Regions from separate parts of the Homo sapiens genome. Here region 1 is linked to region 2. The links are contacts of gene promoters, found by promoter capture Hi-C in human tissues and cell types (Jung and others, 2019). All regions are on one chromosome and are shown on one strand. Each heading gives the region's core, a stretch centred on a gene start or on the middle of the fragment in contact. The rest is flanking DNA. Distances are from core to core; before and after follow the strand shown.

Region 1 (2,700 bases), core at 187-2,686, 330 kb before region 2:
CAAAAGTGATTTTTACAATAGACCTGACAGATTCAAATTATTCCTCACATCTGGATTGTTTTCCCCTCCAAGTTCGTTGTTCTCCATAAAAATGAGTTTCAAACGTCCAGTTAAAACCTGCCAATCACAACCAGCTCCTGAATGACTGCTGGGTAAATAATGAAATGAAGGCAGAAATAAAGATGTTCTTCGAAACCAATGAGAACAAAGACGCAACATACCAGTATCTCTGGGACACATTCAAAGCAGGGTATAGAGGGAAATTTATAGTACTAAATGCACACAAGAGAAAGCAGGAAAGATCTAAAATTGACACCCTAACATCACAATTAATAGAACTAGAGAAGCAAGAGCAAACAAATTCAAAAGCTAGCAGAAGGCAAGAAATAACTAAGATCAGAGCAGAACGGAAAGAGATAGAGACACGAAAAACCCTTCAAAAAATCAATGAATCAAGGAGCTGGTTTTTTGAAAAGATCACAAAATAGACTGTTAGCAAGACAAATAGAGAAGACAAGAGAGAAGAATCAAATAGATACAATAAAAAATGATAAAGGGGATATCAGCACCGATCCCACAGAAATATAAACTACCATCAGAGAATACTATAAACACCTCTATGCAAATAAACTAGAAAATCTAGAAGAAATGGATAAATTCCCGGACACATACACCCTCCCAAGACTAAACCAGGAAGAAGTTGAATCTCTGAATAGACCAATAACAGGTTCTGAAATTGAGGCAATAATTAATGGCCTACCAACCAAAAAAAGTCCAGGACCAGAAGGATTCACAGCCGAATTCTACCAGAGGTACAAAGAGGAGCTGGTACCATTCCTTCTGAAACTATTCCAATCAACAGAAAAAGAGGGAATCCTCCCTAACTCATTTTATGAGGCCAGCATCATCCTGATACCAAAGCCTGGCAGAGACACAAGAAAAAGAGAGAATTTTAGACCAATATCCCTGATGAACATCCATGTGAAAATCCTCAATAAAATACTGGCAAACTGAATCCAGCAGCACATCAAAAAGCTTATAAACCATGATCAAGTTGGCTTCATCCCTAGGATGCAAGGCTGGTTCAACATATGCAAATCAATAAACGTAATCCATCACATAAACAGAACCAACAACAAAAACCACATGATTATCTCAATAGATGCAGAAAAGGCCTTCGACAAAATTCAACAGCCCTTCATGCTAAAAACTCTCAATAAACTAGATATTGATGAAACATATCTCAAAATAATAAGAGGTATTTATGACAAACCCACAGCCAACATCATACGGAATGGGCAAACCTGGAAGCTTTCCCTTTGAAAACCGGAACACGACAAGAATGCCCTCTCTCACCCCTCCTGTTCAACATAGTGTTGGAAGTTCTGGCCAGGGCAATCAGGCAAAAGAAAGAAATAAAGGGTATTCAATTAGGAAAAGAGGAAGTCAAATTGTCCCTGTTTGCAGATGACATGATTGTATATTTAGAAAACTCCATCGTCTCAGCCCGAAATCTCCTTAAGCTGATAAGCAACTTCAGCAAAGTCTCAGGATACAAAATCAATGTGCAAAAATCACAAGCATTCCTATACACCAATAACAGACAGAGAGCCAAATCATGAGTGAACTCCCATTCACAATTGCTACAAAGTGAATAAAATATCTAGGAATCCAGCTTACAAGTGATGTGAAGGACCTCTTCAAGGAGAACTACAAACCACTGCTCAACAAAATAAAAGAGGACACAAACAAATGGAAGAACATTCTATGCTCATGGGTAGGAAGAATCAATATTGTGAAAATGGCCATACTGCCCAAGGTAATTTATAGATTCAATGCCATCCTCATCAAGCTACCAGTGACTTTCTTCACAGAATTGGAAAAAACTACTCTAAAGTTCATATGGAACCAAAAAAGAGACCGCATAGCCAAGACAATCCTAAGCAAAAAGAACAAAGCTGGATGCATCATGCTACCTGACTTCAAACTACACTACAAGGCTACAGTAACTGAAACAGCATGGTACTGGTACCAAAACATATATATAGACCAATGGAACAGAACAGAGGCCTCAGAAATAACACCACACATCTACAGCCATCTGATCTTTGACAAACCTGACAAAAACAAGCAATGGGGAAAGGATTCCCTATTTAATAAATGGTGCTGGGAAAACTGGCTAGCCATATGAGGAAGCTGAAACTGGATCCCTTCCTTAAACCTTATACAAAAATTAACTCAAGATGGATTAAAGACTTAAATGTAAGACCTAAAACCATAAAAACCCTAGAAGAAAACCTAGGCAATGCGATTCAGGACACAGGCATGGGCAAAGACTTCATGACTAAAACACCAAAAGCAATGGCAAGAAAAGCTAAAATAGACAAATGGGATCTAATTAAACTAAAGAGCTTCTGCACAGCAAAAGAAACTATCATCAGAGTGAACAGGCAACCTACAGAATGGGAGAAAAGTTTTGCAATCTACCCATCTGACAAAGGGCTAATATCCAGAATCTACCAATAACTTAAACAAATTTACAAGAAAAAAATCAAATGACCCAATCAAAAAGTGGGCAAAGGATATGAACAGACACCTCTCAAAAGAAGATATTTATGCAGCCAACAGACACATGAAAAAATGCTCATCACTGAAAAAATGATGATGAAAAAATGCTCATCATCAGAGAAATGCAAATGA
Region 2 (2,700 bases), core at 100-2,599:
ATAGCCGGCAGGACCCCGTGGCTTAAGGCTACTGACCAGATGGAGTTCTTTCTGAAACTCCTCTTTGTGATTTTTCTTTTTGAGTTCCAGGCAGTTGTTCTTCAGACCCCTATACTTCTCCTTGCCATCCCCCTTGTCTGTTTTCACGATGTCCTTAGTTCCGCTGAGCTCCACGGAGTAAATTTCTGGGGTTTTCTGAAAGAGAAGCCCAGGTGCAATATTGGCCCCAAATGGGGTTTCCGAAGAGGTGCTGAGCGCCCCTCTGCGGGGTCAGGACCTGCAGGAGTCAGGAGCCCCTTCTCCCTTTCCTTCCCTCCTCTGGGGAGGCCGGAGGGAGTCGGACAGTGGAGTCTCTCCCCCACCTCCCGCCGACCTTGGCTTCCTCTCCGTCCGTGTAGAGGGGAGGCGGGGTGGGCACAGGCCAGCCAGCAGCTCCTCAGGGTGACCCTTCTCTGGGTGGAGCAGGTGGGAAGTTACCCCCCCAACTCCTGACTGATGCCTCCAAGGAGCTGTGAGGTTTCCTTAGAACCTCGAGGTTCCTTAGGCACCTCGAGGTTTCCTCTGAGGTGTCCTTCCCAGGGGACACAACAGCTGTGCGTCCTGTTTCTTGGGGAGGAGGCACCCACTAAGCTTACGACCCTCAGTCCTGATCAGGGGGCCCTAACCGGAAGTCTTTTCAGACCGCAACGAATCCATGTCACCCCATCCTCCGAGTCGGAGCCCGCAGGTGCCATGGAGCTGGCCTAGGACCCCTTGGCCCCTTCTCGCTCCTCTGGACTGGCTTCTTTCCCCAGCCAGCCCCGGCGGCCGCACGGAGCCGTGGCGGGGAGTCAGAGAAGCGGTGCCCAGGCCGGGGGGCGCTCAGAGGAAAGGCGGCCTCCCCTTGCCCCGGGACGGGGCGTTTCTCCTCTTCGCCTTTTCCTCGCTTCCCGTCAGCCTGCTCCGGTCCCCGGGGCCTTGGCCCAGCGTCTCGCATCCTCGGCCGGCGCGGGGGCTGCACGCACCTGGTGCATGCTGGGCTGGTGGCGCCGCGGGCTGCGGGCGTGGAGCGCGGATCCGGGACCGCAGCGGCGGAGCGCACGGTGGGGGGCCTCGTGTGGCTGTGGCAGTGGCAGTGGCTGAGGTGTTGGCGGTGGAGATACCGGCGGCGGCGCGGGCCCTGCACGCACCTCCGCGGCCGATCGCCAGCCGCTGCACCGGGGAGGTGGCACCAGCCTTAAATGCCGCCCGCCCCGCCCACGTCCCCGCCAGGGCGCAGGCCAGCGGACGCCTCGGAGGGTAGGAAACCCGCCGGCGCGCGCGCAGGGAGGGGGACCGACAGCTAGGGGTCGGGAGAGTCCAGGATTGAGGACCCCCTGGGAATCCCCTTCCCTTTAGTAGCCGAACGCCAGGGGGCGGGGTCTCTAGGGGGCGGGTCCGGCATCCAGGTGAGTACAGCCCTGGTTCCGCTGGGCGCCCAGAGCCGGACCAGCTGCTCCGGCGAGCTCCCGGCACGCCCACGTCCTGTCCAGGCTTCCCTGAAAACCCACACATGCCTTTTTTTAAAAATGTAATTTGCCTACCAATAAATCAATTTATAAAAATGTGTATGCAGAGAAGGGGAAATTGCAGTTTCTAACAGCAACTACTGTTGGAGATGTCCCGGCTAGAAAAGGCCAATGTGTTTTTGAGAATGGATTTAGATAGGTAAATTCAAGCTTCCGAGAGAATTTGGGAATAACTGAGAGACTCTGAAGAGTAGCTGAATTAATTTGCCGGATCCAGATAAGAATTTGGAATTCTGAAACAATTTGGAGAGGGAATGGGGAGGAGAGATGAGAGGATTAGGGTCGGTGAGACCACAGGAACCTGGGGCCCCAGGCTGCGGGTGCGCAGGAGCGGAGGCTGTTGGCTGGACTGGGCTGGAGAGGTCTGTCTCCACCTATTTATGTCACTCCCAGCTGAGACTCTATACATGAAGGAGAAAAGAATTTCTGACCCTGAAAGTTGATGTGCATACTAAAGCAGTGGTTGTTTTATACTGCTAAGTTTGGGTTGGTTTGTTATGCAGCAATAGATAACTGGGACATGCTCCATGCTCTTAGTGCCCAGCATGAGTTTTTGCACAGGATAGAAAAGGTATTTTCCCCCTGACACTTGAAACATAATTACTCCAGATGAGAAAGATAGCCTGAAAACAATATATCAGAGAGATATTTAGCAGTTAACAGTGGAGGAAATCAAACACGTTCTTTTAAAAGAATGAATCGTGAAGTCTTAAAGTCAGTGAAGAATATTAATTAATGGAGAGGAACATAAAAAATAAAACCCACGAATAGAGTTTAGTAATCAGCACCTATTTAGAAGAACAATAAGAAATTGACATGATTGAAATATATGAAAGGGAGTAGAGATAAGTTTCAAAAGAGGGGGCACTTTATTGGGCCCTTGATGCTCTGCTAATAAGTTTCCATTTAGATAAGGACTAATAGGAGGGTGCTAAGTTTTATTCTTTTTGAAAGTTATATATCAAATATGGTAAGAAAGATTGTCATTTTGACCATATTTAAAATGACTAAGAGTGAGGAGTCCAGAGAAGCAGCAAAAGTAACAATCCCATCATGCAGTGACTAGAACATCTGGCAGAAAACATGAAGAGCATTGGGTACATTTAGAAAAGGTAGAAGAAAAACAATAAGCTTGTGCCCGGCCGGGCGCGGT

The links. Contacts are between HindIII fragments. The study calls those that stand out against the background at their distance.
Region 1: a fragment that was not itself captured here is called in contact with the fragment with the promoter of ATP12A in region 2 in 1 of the 25 tissues and cell types used here (spleen).

What each region holds. Positions count from the first base shown.
Region 1 is chr13:25,007,983-25,010,682 of GRCh38, reverse strand. No RefSeq gene overlaps it. Among named protein-coding and RNA genes, the nearest start is that of CPAP, 86 kb to the right of the region's middle. The HindIII fragment of the contact is 4,162 bases long and covers 1-2,700 here.
Region 2 is chr13:24,679,057-24,681,756 of GRCh38, reverse strand. ATP12A (ATPase H+/K+ transporting non-gastric alpha2 subunit) reads right to left here and starts at 1,349. Exons shown (of 23, transcript NM_001676.7): 1 at 1,005-1,349; 2 at 37-195. The coding sequence starts at 1,013. RefSeq lists a silencer at 992-1,301. The HindIII fragment of the contact is 3,620 bases long and covers 1-2,188 here.